Regions from separate parts of the Homo sapiens genome. Here region 1 is linked to region 2. The links are contacts of gene promoters, found by promoter capture Hi-C in human tissues and cell types (Jung and others, 2019). All regions are on one chromosome and are shown on one strand. The core of a region is centred on a gene start or on the middle of the fragment in contact, and the rest is flanking DNA. Distances in the headings are between cores, read along the strand shown.

Region 1 (6,946 bases), core at 756-3,255, 49 kb after region 2:
CCCGCTCCCATTTAACATTTGTCTTTGGGACAGCTACCACTGATAGGAGAATGAGAGGATCCACATTGACTCTTGCTTATGGGACTGGAGGCCATTCTTCTACTGGTACTTTTGAGACTGAGAGAGGCCAACACACCAATGCTCAACATAGCTGCACGGATAGGTCTACATGAGTCAGTAAAACATAGGAATGATTTAGGGAACACAGACCTTTTTGTGTGGAAAGGAGAAGAGGATTCCTGAAGGAGAGTGGTATTTAGGACCCAGAGACTTAAAGAAGCAGGAACTTCAGGGCGTGTGAATGATCTGAGTGCAAGTGGGTCAACTTAGGAGTGACGCAAGACTGCCTTGATAGCTATGGGTAGGTCAAGCCCCACACAGGGCCAGGGGAGCCTTCACACAGACTGTTATGTGAATGGCGCTTCCCTGAGTTGTGCAATATGGCAGCCCTGCACAGATGATGTGTTCCTTGAGAAAGCCTAGGCCTTAGATGCCTTCCCTTGGGAGCTGAGAGAGAGAGTTTTTATTCACAGTTCACCAGAAGTTTGTCCAGACTAAATGATCATTCTTTTCAGTTTTCCCTAATTCTTTTTTTTGTTTGTTTGTGTTTTGAGACGGAGTTTTGCTCTTGTTGCCCAAGCTGGAGTGCAATGGTGCGATCTTGGCTCACTGCAATCTCTGCCTCCCAGATTCAAGTGATTCTACTGCCTCAGCCTCCCAAGTAGCTGGGATTACAGGCGTGCACCACCTCTCCCGACTAATTTTTTGTATTTTTAGTAAAAATGGAGTTTCACCATGTTAGCCAGGCTGGTCTCGAACTCCTGAGCTCAGATAATCTGCCCGTCTTGGCCTCCCAAAGTGCTGGGATTACAGGCGTGAGCCACGGTGTCTGGCCAGTTTTTCCTAATTCTTCAACAAGGAAATTTGCATATAACTGCAACTTGGTGTGTGAGTCTTGTGATGGCCAAGGAAAAGGAGGGGGAGGTGTTGTCTCATCTCCACTTCTCCTGAGTTCAAGTAGAGAAGGGATAATGACCTCTTGGAAGGAATACGGTTCCAAATACCTGGGGTGACCAGAGGGGAGCCCCCGGGTGAAACCTGTGGCAGAGTACCCTGAAAGGACATATGCAAGCAATAGCATTTGATCACGCCCTGCAAATACCTACTGAGGCCACACTCTCCTGAGGTGGGATGCAGAGTCTGGGAGAAACTCCATAGTTTCATTCCTTTTTGCTGAGGGCTTGCAATATGCCAGGCAGGCTATTAAAGGTTTAGATTTACATTCGTGGCCTTCAACAAAAGGTGATGATGATCCCTATTATTGAGCGTCTAGATTAAAAAAATTTTTCCAGGCTGGGTTGGCAATGTTATGTCCTGGTCCCTTCTAGTTCTGACATCCTATGTAATCTGCCTGATAGAATTTTCAGAGGTGCTCATTAGATTCTTCTTGGCAGAAAACTTTGCTCCTGAAGAAGAGAAACTCAATGTTAGAGAGAGGAAAAGGCAAAGAAAAGGAGGGTTGGGGCACAGAACACAAATGTTTACATTTTATAGCTCTGCCTAAAGCAGAATCTTTCTTAGCTTTTCTTCCAGTAACACTGTAAGCTTTTCAACTTTTCCACTCTGAATGTTTTGAGGTCTTTGCTCCTTCTCTATTTCTCAGCCATTCACCCTTCCTCTAAGACTTTCCCTAGAGTCCTCTGTGGTTGACTCCCTGCCCTGTGCATGCTTCTCTCCCTATTGCATGACCTCAGGCTGTACAATAGCATCAAGCATAGCCTTGATGAGAAATAATCCACACTCAAGGCGGGATGTTTGTGGGAGAGGGGAATGTCCCAGTGAGGCTTAGCAGGGGCTTACATGTGGAGTGAATATGAACATGGAACAATGCAAAGAACCCTGGATCTGGATTCAGAATCCTGTGGCCACAGCTCTGGCTCTGGCCCTGACTTGCCATGTTACTTCTGGCAGGCCATCTGGGTGAACTGAACCTGGGTGTCTTCACTTGCAAAATGGGGTTTTCAAGATGACATTTTAGCTCCCTTTTCCAATTGTTGATATGTTATAGCTTTTAAAGAATTAATTGTAAGAATCATCAACTCCTTCTCCCCCTAGCATCCATGTCTCACTTCGTAATCTCATCTCCACTTAGGACTTGGAATCATGTATCTTTCCAAATTGGGGCCTTAGTTGTCCTGTGAGCTAGAGATGACATTGGTTTTCCACTTTAATTTTGTCCAGAGACTTCGTTATAATGATTCTATCCTTCTTCACCCCTTCCCCATCACCTGTTCATTCCTAGTTAGGAAGATACTCCTCTATGGACAGTTGGGTGGGGAGCCTGAGAACTCAGATGCTGGAAGCTGAAGCAGCTAGGAAGGGCTCTCCAAAGAAGGTACAGGAAGGGCACCAGTTAGTAATGGCATCGGTTGATTCCTCAAATATAATTGCCATGAAAAAGTTTTCCATTTTCCTCCCAGCACTTCAGGCAAATGACCTCAAAGAGGAGAACCTCTTTTCCTTCCAATTATGACCACTAACTTTTGCCTTTCTGGTCCACTCACATCTTTATTCTTTCCTAACTTCTGTGGGCCATGACAAGACTGTGTCAAAGTGATTGGTGGGTTGCTCCTTGAAGACCCCATAGAGCTGGGTCTTTAGTCTTTTTAGACTCAGCTGAGTGCAGCTGATGTCTCTATGGGAGCTAGAGAGTGAGGAAGGGTGGATTCCTCTCCCTCTTGGTCTGAATGACTTCTTCCCTGCCCCATGGACCAGAGGAGGGGAGTTGAGTGGCAGGATGTGTTAACTCTCCACACTCAGGTTGGAAGCTTCTCTGCTCCACATAGACTTCTGCTCACACAAGGGTCTTTACTTCTCCAAAGGTCATTCCCTCAATAACGCAATACCTGCCCATCTAAGAACCACCTTTTCCTTGTTTAGCCAACATACTTCTGCTTTAGAGATTGTATTAAAGACCCATCCTGGCATTGCTTTTTAGAAAATAGGAAGGTAGACACTAAGTACTATCAGAAACAGGATCACAGGATCTACCAGTACTTGTTAAAAGTTCCATTTTACTATGAACCCCCAATTCATTGTAAAGGAATATTTTTTAGGATCTCCTCAATGCCACTAATGAGCATGCCCAGCCTGGAGAAAGTGAAGAAGAAGGCTGTTTATGTTTAACTTGGGAGGCTGCTGTGGTTCTAGAAAATGGGAATGTGTGTCAATTTGCTTTATAGAGGAAAGCAGAAATTGAAGAAAGTGATCCATTAAGAATTATCAAATACTAAACCCTTTTGGTAAGAGGAACCATATTTGGTGCATCTCTTGGCATCTAGGAAGAACTGACCACAATTCACCCCGGACAGAAAGATCTAAGGAACTCCTAATCCATGTTAGGGTACAATTATCTTTATAGTCAGCAAAATTTTCCTTCAGTTTTCATTGCTTTTCTCTTATTTCATTTGGATCATAAAGCAACCGAAAAGATTGTGCTTCCCATAGTGTATTTAGAAGTAGCCTTGGATGAGCTTCAATATGGTGACTTTGGTCTTTCCTTCTCTGCTGTGAATCATGTTGGACACCTTCAACAATCAATCCTCCGAGGATTTTGGGATCATGGTAGATGGGAGGCAGGACTAGATTGCAGCTCTGGACAGAGCACCACGTGGAGGCTTGTATTGTGAATTTTAGCTTCAGATTGACTGCAAGAACAAACCAGCAGTCCTGAGAGGACCCACAGACCCTCTGAAGGAAGCAGACTGCTCCCACAGGACCCAGGAGACACCCCAAATACTCTGGGAGGTGGAAAGCCTCGGGCAAGTTTTCAAGCCCAATCTCGCCCTCTGCCTGGAAACAGACTCAGGGCTATTGTGGGGGGCACGGTGAGAGTGAGACCAGCCCTTTGGTTTGCGTGGGAGCTGGGTGAGGCCTGTGACTGCTGGCTTTCCCCCACTTCCCTGACAACCTGCATGACTCAGCAGAGGCAGCCATAATCCTCCTAGGTACACAACTCCAGTGACCTGGGAATTTCACCCCCATGTCCCATAGCAGCCACAGCAAGACCTACCCAAGGAGAGTCTGTGCTCAGACACGCCTGGCCCTGCCCCCACCTGATGGTCCTTCCCTACCCACCCTGGTAGTGGAAGACAAAGCGCATACAATATTGGGAGTTCTAGGGCCCCATCTGCCGCTGTTCCCTCTCCACACTACTACAGCTGATGCTTTCTGGAAAGCGCCACCTCCTGGCAGGAGGCCAACTAGCACAAAAATACAGCATTAAACCACCAAAGCTAAGGACCCTCACGGAGTCTATTGCACCCTCCTGCCACCTCCACTGGAACAGGTGCTGGTATCTACACAGCTGAGAGACCCATAGATGGTTCACATCACAGGGCTCTGTGCAGACAACCCCCAGTACCAGCCCAGAGTCAGGTAGATTTGCTGGGTGGCTAGACTCTGGAGAGAGACAATCACGGCAGTTTGGCTCACAGGAAGCCACATCCACAGGGAAAGGGGGAGAGTACTACATAAAGGGAACATGCTGTGAGACAAAAAAATCTGAACAGTAGCCTTTATCTCTAGATGTTCCTTCTGACAGGACCTACCTAAATGTGAAGGAACCAGAAAACCAACCCTGGTAATATGACAAAACAAGGCTCGTCAACACCCCCCCAAAATCACACTAGTTCACCAGCAATGGTTCCAAACCAATAAGAAACCCTTGATTTACCTGAAAAAGAATTTAGGAGGTTAGTCATTAAGCCAATCAGGGAGGGACCAGAGAAAGGCAAAGCCCAATGCAAGGAAATCCAATGCAAGGAAATCCAAAAAATGATAGAAGAAGTGAAGGGAGAAATATTCAAAGAAATAGATATAGCTTAAAGAAAAAACAACAAAAAATCCAGGTAACTTTGGACACACTTTCAGAAATGTGAAATGCTCTGGAAAGTCTCAGCAATACAGTTGAACAAGTAGAAGAAAGAAATTCAGAGCTCAAAGATAAGGTCTCAAATTAACCCAATCCAACAAAGACAAAGGAAAAAGAATAAGAAAATACAAACAAAACCTCCAAGAAGTCTGGGATTATGTTAAACGAGCAACTCTAAGAATTATCGGTGTTCCTGAGGAAGAAGACAATTCTAAAAGCTTGGTAAACATATCTGGGGGAATAATAGAGGAAAACTTCCCCAGCCTTGCCAGAGACCTAGACGTGCAAATACAAGAAGCACAAAGAACACCTGGGAAATTCATCACAAAAAGATCTTCGCCTAGGCACATTGTCATCAGGTTATCCAAAGTTAAGCTGAAGGAAAGAAACTTAAGAGCTGTGAGACAGAAGTACCAGGTAACCTATAAAGGAAAACCTATGAGATTAACAGCAGATTTCTCAGCAGAAACCCTACAAGCTAGAAGGGATTGGGGCCCTATCTTCAGCTTCCTCAAAGAAAGCAATTATCAGCCAATAATTTTGTATCCAGTGAAATTAAGCATCATATGTGAAGGAAAGATACAGTCATTTTCAGACAAACAAATGCTGAGAGAATTTGCCATTACCAAACCACCACTACAAGAACTGTTAAAAGGAGCTCCAAATCTTGAAACAAATCTTGGAAACACCTCAGAACAGAACCTCTTTAAAGCATAGATCACACAGGACCTATAGAACAAAAACACAAGTTAAAAAGCAAAAACAAAAAACAAAAAAATAAAGTACACAGGCAACAAAGAGCATGGGGAATGCAATGGTACCTCACATTTCAATACTAACATTGAATGTAAATGGCCTAAATGCTCAACTTAAAAGATACAGAACTGCAGAATGGATAAAAACTCTCCAACCAACTATCTGCTGCCTTCGGGAGACTCACCCAACACATAAGGACTCACATAAAGTAAAGGGGTGGAAAAAGGCATTTCATGCAAATGGACGCTAAAAGCAAGCAGGAGTGGCTATTCTTACATCAGACAAAGCAAACTTTAAAGCAACAGCAGTTAAAAGAGACAAAGAGGGACAGTATATAATGGTAAAAGGCCTAGTCCAATAGGAAAATATCATGATTGTAAACATATATGCATCTAACACTGGAGCTCCCAAATTTATAAAACAATTACTAATAGACCTAAGAAATGAGATAGATGGCAACACAATAATAGTGGGGGACTTCAATACTCCACTGACAGCACTAGACAGGTCATCAAGACAGAAAGTCAAAAAAGAAACAATGGATTTAAAGTATACCTTAGAACAAATGGGCTTAACAGATATATACAGAACATTTCATCCAACAACCACAGCATACACATGCTATGCAACAGCGCATGGAACTTTCCCCAAGATGGACCATGTGATAGGCCATAAAACGAGCCTCAATAAATTTAAGAAAGTTGAAATTATATCAAACACTCTCTCAGACCACAGCGGAATGAAACTGGAAACCAATTTCAAAAGGAACCTTCAAAACCATGCAAATACATGGAAATTATATAACCTGCTCCTGAAAGATCACTGGGTCAAAAATGAAATCATAGTGGAAATTAAAAAAATTATTTGAGCTGAATGACAATAATCACACAACCTATCAAAACCTCTGGGATACAGCTAAGGCAGTTCTAAAAGGAAAGTTCATAGCCCCAAACGTCTACATCAAAAAGTCTGAAAGAGCACAAACAGACAATCTAAGGTCACACCTCAAGGAACTAGAGAAACAAAAACAAACCAAACCCAAACCGAGAAGAAGAAAGGAAATAACCAAGATCAGAGCAGAACTAAATGAAATTGAAATAAAAAAATTAAAAAAGACAAATGAAACAAAAAGCTGGTTATTTGAAAAGGTAAATAAAATTGATAGACCATTACCAAGATTAAGCAAGTAAAGAAGAGAGAAAACCCAAATAACCTCACTAAGAAATGAAACAGAAGATATTACAACTGACACCACTG
Region 2 (7,238 bases), core at 4,177-6,676:
CAAGTATGTAATCAATGTGTAATCAGTCTTACTGTTTTGAATAACATGTCCTGATTGCAATTTAAGGATAGTCTCTGGGAATTGCAGCTTTTGGACCAACTGTAGAGAAAAAGCAAATGTAAAACTAAACAAACCCCTCCAAATCGCCTGCTTGACTCAACGCAGCCATTCTCCCACCCTCTTCCCTTCTGCTCTGGCCCCTGGTTGGTACCTGCTCTTTATGATCTTCTTCCAGTTTCTGGATGTAGTGGGTCTGGAGTGTGGTGATCTCTTCTCCAGAGTTTTATTTTCCACACACTAAATATCTTAAAAGTTTCATAGGCATTGCTCAGGTACAAAGTAGAAACTTTAGACAAGTATTACCTTCCCTTCCCGCTGGCTTCTTCGCTCCATTAAGGGGGCCAGGGCTTCTGCAGGGAATTCCTGCTCCCATGCCCTTTGCTGTAACCCTCACGATGACCTCTGGCTCCTAGGGTCAGGCTGGTCCACCCTCTGCAGCTGCAGGCCCACCTGCCTGCTCAAATCCAGCCCAAGCCCCGGGACTAACTCACAGCTGCTCTGACTTAAAACTCAAGCCCTCAGGGGATGCCTTAGAGTTGGGGTGGGGGGTCGGGGGGTGGATGGAGAAGGTCGGAGGGAAGAGTAGGAGGGAGGGGTGAGAAAGGGGAAAAAGAGAAATGGAAAGAATATGAGCTCTCACTAGGGCTAACTCTGCTTGTTCTTCCAGTCTGAGCTGACACAGCAGAAAGGTGGGGGAGGGGGGGCGGGGTGGGCGGGGGCGGGGGCGGTGGGCGGAGGTGGCGAGAAAAGTCCAGTTAAAGCCCCATCTCGTTTTCCCAACTCCCGTTTTGGTTGGCTCAGGGCACGCCATCCTCTCAAAGACTTGTTTCAGAGGGAGGGGGTGCGGGTGGGAAAGGAATTTGGCTCCTTCAGTTTTCCATGATCTTGCTCAACCCAGACATAAATTTGGCCAATAAACCTAACTCTGGAACTCGACTTCAACATGGCATTTTAGACCAGGCTTGGAGTTGAAGCCAGGGTGATGGAGGCCAAACCCCTCAAAGAAGCAAAGGCTGAATTCACTTTTATTTAGGTAATGCTTTTGCTTTCTTTTCCAGAAGCCTATTTTTTGTCCCACGGTGTCTCATTTCTTAATGACAGAACCGAAAGCCAGAACCCACGGCTCCCTACATCTTAAACTGAATGTCTCACCAGCACAGAGGAGACCTACCCGAACCCCGGTATCTATGCTGGGGACCAGCCCATCAAACCTCATTCCCCACCAAAAATGCCCGAAAGCAAACCCAGTACTTCCTTGACTCCCTCCACTCACCGCTATTTACTGAGCTTTGCCCATCAAATAACTCCCGTCTTTCATCTCCCTCCAGCCTCACACACATTCTTTTTTCCGTATCTATCTCTGCTCCTGAACTGGCCAGAATGAAATGCAGAGCCAGGCTCGCTCTCAGCACCCTGCTCTCGGGCCCACTCCCTCTCCAGTTGCTCAGCAACAGCCTAGCAAAACACCCTCTCCTCCGCCCTCTCCTTTCCCTCCCAGAGGCTTTGGCTGCCTGCCACCTCACTCTCTTCTGCTCCCCATTTCTGATTCCAGAAATGCACCTTTTTTGGGTTCTACATGTTTGGTTACATATAAATATATATAATATAGTATATACCATATATACAATATATAATTATATAGATATAATATGTCGTGTGTGTGTGTGTGTGTGTGTGTGTGTGTGTGTGTGTGTGTATGCTGCAACTGCGGGAGGGAGGGGGCAAATCCATATCTGCAAGCTCAGATTTTGGCGGGGGTGGGGGAGAGGAGGGAGGTAGGAGGTGTGTTGGGAAGCAGGAATTTTGGCTAAAGGACCAAAAGGGCACTCTCCCTCTCTCTGTCCATTTCTCTCTCCTTAAGAACGGTCTCTACACCATCTCCAACTTTTTGGGGACCCGCCCAGTGGTTGTCCGGCTAAAACGCCCTTTCCAGGAGCGCCCACTCCCATCCCATCTGTTCGGGAAGAAGATGTCGGCACCAGCAGCGGTGGAGCGCCGCCAACCCGCAACAGCAGCCGGCCGGGCACCTGCCTTCGGCGGGGTGGAGTCGGAGAGGAGTGCTGGGGAGGGGGCGGGTAGAAGAGGCGGCTTCGGGTTGGCCCAAAGGCACTCAGAAGGTGGGGGTTGAGCAAGGGGCGGCAGGGAATTCTACAGGGGATCTTGCTTGGGACTGAAGTGTCGTGTGTGTGTGTGTGTGTGTGTGTGTGTGTGTGTGTGTGTGATGCGCCCTCCGTGCTCGCCTAGCAATTGCGCGCGCGTGCGCTCTGCGTGTACACCCTTCACACTAGCCACATCACACTACACGCTTGGTAAATAATAAGTGGAGCCAGGATGCGGCTGAGTGACACCTTACGTTCTTTCGGTGTGACTGGATTGTTACCCAGGGCGGTGGCTCCCAAGCCGGGAAATCAATTAATGTTTTCCTTCTCCGCTAGGCTTTTCCAAATCCACATCCCCCAAGATGAAGGCGGGCAGGACCGCCTTTGAAAAGTGGATCTTAATAAAAATAATCTCACAAGCCGGTCTCTGGGGTTCCCAGAGCCTGCACATCCTCCCCTTTTCCTCTTTTTGCAGGCTGCAACCTGCAAAAAGATCGACTTTTTGCAGGTTTGGAGATCGACTACCTCTTGCAAAGCTAGAGGGGCTGGCCCCTGCGCCACTCAAACCCTGCAGGGTTTGCGGGGACTGAGGCTGAACACAGGAAGCTCTCCGGCCTCCTGGCAAGCGCGGACGCACTCCTCTCCTGCACTATAGTGACTGAAATTTGCACTTCAGAAAACTCATGTTAGGGTGCTCGTGAGTAACGGAAAGGGACAGGGAGGGAGAAGGGGATTGCCCCCGTAACTAAACTGTCTCCGTAACTAAACTACGCCAAATAAACATTGTTTAGCCAAGTTTTAACCCCTTTTGGAGAGAATCAATAGCCAGTTTGACGTCTTAGAACCCAGACTTTTATGTAGTTTATTTAACTTTTTTTTTTTTTAACTAAAGATCAGGTAACTCTTTCCAAAAAGAAACTCAGTCTAAGGGGGTAGAACTGTTCTGATTGAACAAGTAGCTGTGTCAATCATTTCAACCCTAGACTCCTGGCGCCGAGAATTTGGGGGCGGCGCAACCCGGGGGCGGGGCAAGCGGAGGCGAGGCTCCCAGTGCGTGGCTTTTCTGTCTCCGCCCCCTGAATTTTGCATTCTGCGTTTCCAGGGCCCCTCATGCACTTAATCCACACCCACTTGTGATCTGGTTTAAGAGATTGGGGAGGGCGGGGTGGGGGGATTGCGGAGGGAGGAATTGCGGGGCGGGGGTGGAGGTGGTGGTGGTGCCAGGAATCTGCATAGGCGAGGAAGTTGAAAGCTCTGAATCTCACATCCCCTTTTGCCTCCCAGCCCTATGTCCACCTTTCATCCTAGGTAAAATCTGAATTGGAGAGGGGGAAAAGGAATTAGATTCAGAAACGAACACCAGGCACAGAATACCAAACCCTTCCTTTCTACTCTTCCCCACCCCCACCCCGCACCCCCGCACTCCTAAAGTATTTTTTTCCCTTCCTGGGATAAAATAAAAGTCATTTTGCAGTTAAATATGTTTTACCATCTACCACAGGCAATCATCTTCAATAAAAAGCAATGGTTATGCACATGGGAGGGGCTTCAGGGCTCCCACCCGAAAGGCATTAGCTACCAAGGATGTGGGGTGTTTGTGGTGTGTGTGTAGGGGTGGAGGGATAGAAACGTCTGGAGGCACGGGGGTGGAGGGGCCAAGAGGGACAAAGGTGGAATTAGCTCAGAAGATAGGTAATGCCTCTCTCTCCAGGCCGCAATTAAAATAATATTTTAACAAAAGAGATTTTTTTTCCAAGTTCAGAAAAAAACCTATGCGGGGCGCGAGGGGGGTGGAGGAGGGAGTTGATAATGTAACATACACTCTTTCAGACTGTAGATAGGGTACCAGGGGATTTGGACCTTGTGACCGAATAAGAGCTCAGAATCAGTATTCGGACAGAGTAGGGGGAGGGGGCGGGCAACGTGTGGGTAGGAGGAAGGAGAAAGAGCGAAAGCTGGGATAGACTCGGCTAGACAGTTCCCCCGGGTAGCAGGATCCTCCAGGGCTCCAATTCCGGGGTGCAAGGACCCTCCCCGACTACTCCCGAGCTGCACCCCAGCTCGAAGCCACTTGCTGCGCAAAGCGCGCGGGCCCAGCCGGTCTCGTGTCCCCCGCCCGTGCGCCGCGTAACTGACTGGCACACTGAGCGCGCTCACCGATCTTGACTTGCTCGCGGTAGCTCTTTTCGTTGAGGCAAACCCCGCGGCCGTGCAGCAGGGCGTGCAGCGGCTTCTCCTCGTCCTGCCGGGGGAGGCAGCGCAGCCCCTGGGCGCAGCGCTCGGTGTAGACGCCGCACGACTGCCCCTCGGCCAGGGCGCAGGTCATGCAGCAGCCGCAGCCCGGCTCCTTGACCAGCTCGCAGCCCAGGGGGCTGGGGGGGCACATGGAGAGGGCTTTCTCGTCGCAGGGCTCGCAGTGCACGAAGGAGCCCAGGCTCTGGGCCGGCCCCGCATAGGCGGCCAGCAGCAGGAGGACCGCGGTGAGCAACACCATCTTCTCTTAGTCGCCCCCTTTACCTCGGGGTGGGGCAGGAGAGCGAGAGTGCAGGGATAAAGGGGCCAAGAGGGCCCCCGGAGATTTTTTTGTTTTTGTTTTTGTTTTAAAATTTCTGGCAGGTAGAGCAGGTGCCCTCCCCCAGACACTTGCAAAAATGTAGAGAGAGGTGGAGGGCTGGGGTGCCTGCGAGCAGGTCCCAGTTGCAAGAATTAAAGCCTTGCAACAGGTTGGGGGAAGCAGGGCAGCGCCAGGTGCACGCAGTGAGCGGAGGCCGGAGAAACCCTCAAGCCTGAGCGGGTCAGAATTATAGGGGAAAAAAAGCCACAAAATTGTTCACCCCCAAGCAACCACCGAAATAATGAGATCGGATGCAGTGGAGATGGCGTTGGGGGTGGGAGAGAAAAATGGATTTATCTTTAAAATTTTTGCTTAAAATCTAAAATACACCCCGCTTTCTAACCCTCAGCTGCCAGCGGTGCGCGGCGCCGCAGAACAGGTAAGAGGCGTTGGCTGCAGCCGAGAGGGTGGGAGAAAATGTTGAAATCAAGAAATTAAAAAACAAAAACAAAAACAAAAAAACCCCAAACCCTAACACCTCTTTTCTCCCACTTTGCCACCTCCTCTTCGAAATTCGCAGGTTCTACGCGAAGTCCGGAGAAGGGTGAAAACGGAGGAGGGGTAATGAAAAGGAGCAAAAAAGGGAAAAAGCCCACACTGCTTTGCAGCTCTTTCCTAGCTCTTTTCCCCTGCAGAAGTTTCCAAAGAGACTACGGGGCTCCGGGAGAGCAGGCGCTTTTAAATAGCCGGCCCCTGGCTGCCAGCCAGTTTGTAGCTGCAATTTGAGCTTCCCAACACCCAACTCAGGCAAGGATGCCAAGGAGCTTTGCAGTACAAACTCACACGGGGTGGGGGTGGGGAGAGGCCTTCTAGACACAAGGGGGCTCCCCTTCGCTCCCTGAACAGCGCCCTCCTCCCCTCTGAACAGCGCCCTCCTCCCCCCGGAATGTAAGAAAGGGGCAAGGGGGACAGGCTGGGGCTACCGAGAATGGGGAGGAGGTGGAGGGGCCAGTGGAAGACAGAGTTCTTCGGAGCAGGGTGAACACAATGAGGAGAGTAACTTCGTCTCCCCTTCCCTCCTATCCTTTAAGTAGTCAAGGCACAGGCTGAAGGGAGACGTATTTTCTTATTAGCCAACTGGATATACCGTGCCCAAGAAATCTTCCTAAGCTTCTGCAATTGACTGTATGCTGGTGTCTGTTTCCATGTGGGGTGTGTGTGTGTGTGTGTTTGGGGGACAGGTAGTGTAGAATGGCCAGTGATGTCTGGTGAGCTAAATTTAAAAAAGAAGAAAAAATTGAATTTCTCCCCTAAAAGTCTGGAGAAGAGGATTTAATCAGGGGGTTTCAGTACTCATGATGAAGAGGTGACCAGTTGCCTTCAGCTGCGTTGGCCAGGGAGGTTCTCTCTCTCTTTCTCTCTCTCTGTGTGTGTGTGTGTATGTGTGTGTGTTGTGTATCTGCAGGAATGGACATTCATACAACAGCATTATTGAGAGCAGTGAGTTGCAGAGATGGACACTTTGGAGGAAATGCTAAGTCTGAAAACCTTGCATGGTGGCCTAAAGTGTCCTTGTGTGTGGGGTTCTTAGAGGGAAGAAAGGTGGATTGGAGTGACACTTCCCTCTCTGTCACTTTGCAGAGGTATTTCTATTGGGCAGGGCCACATCCCTGGAGGGAGTGGGTGGCAGAGTAGCTGGAGGAGACCTTGTGATAGGTTGACAGGTTAGTTGGTGCTTATAGGCACATCCCAGGAATATGAGCTGACAGGGCCACAGGACCTGCTTGGAAGAGGTCCTGACCAGGAACCGAATCATGCCACTAGAACCTCTTTAATAAAATGAAAGAAAACTAAGGCCTTGAAATAGGAAGGTGGTGGTTTTAGCTTTTTCTGAAATTGACCTGAGTGAGCCATGAGCCTCACAGGCAAGTCAGAGAGAAATGACCAATGTCACTGCCCCTGCTGGGTGGACTTGGTGTGGGCTGTTACACCTTTTACATTGTGCTTCCTCCCTTGAGAAGTATTCTAACTTTCCTTTGGAGAAGGGGCTGCATTTCATGAAGTTTGCCACTAGACTGCACCCTTATCTATGATAAGAATTCTTTCTGGAGGACTGCTTTCAAGAAAATATTTTTTCTTGCTCGTTCAGTTCAGGAGCATCTCACTTTATGCCGTTAACACCCCCAGATCCTGATCTCTCTTCTCACTTATCTATTTGCCGAAAGGCACATTTTAAAACAAGGTTAACGTCTAAAGTTATGTCTTTGCCTGTATTGCCAAAGGGGGTTTAGCCACGTGGTGGCTGGGAGAGGGAGGAGCATTGTGTGTAATGATTAAAACAAAAAATAGCAGCAAGGCTCATCTTAATTTCTTCTTTTCTCAGTCTGAGGGCTTGGTAAGGTAGGAACAAATCAATATTCAAAACTTTGGTGGAAATATTTTAGAAGTGAGGGAAATCATGTGTTATTTTGTCATTTGTGTCAAGTTCAGACTACAAGAGTGGCAGCAGAATGTGTGCAGTATGT

The links. Contacts are between HindIII fragments. The study calls those that stand out against the background at their distance.
Region 1: a contact is called between a fragment that was not itself captured here and the fragment with the promoter of IGFBP5 in region 2, in 1 of the 25 tissues and cell types used here (ovary).

The regions. Positions count from the first base shown.
Region 1 is chr2:216,742,227-216,749,172 of GRCh38, forward strand. All of the region lies in intron 2 of IGFBP-AS1 (IGFBP5 antisense RNA 1), which reads left to right. Among named protein-coding and RNA genes, the nearest start is that of IGFBP5, 50 kb to the left of the region's middle. The HindIII fragment of the contact is 3,967 bases long and covers 23-3,989 here.
Region 2 is chr2:216,690,123-216,697,360 of GRCh38, forward strand. IGFBP5 (insulin like growth factor binding protein 5) reads right to left here and starts at 5,427. Exons shown (of 4, transcript NM_000599.4): 1 at 4,317-5,427. The coding sequence starts at 4,653. IGFBP-AS1 (IGFBP5 antisense RNA 1) reads left to right here and starts at 4,324. Exons shown (of 6, transcript NR_187138.1): 1 at 4,324-4,639. LOC124900515 (a long non-coding RNA gene) reads right to left here and starts at 1,442. Exons shown (of 2, transcript XR_007088080.1): 1 at 1,334-1,442; 2 at 1-305. The HindIII fragment of the contact is 12,405 bases long and covers 1-7,156 here.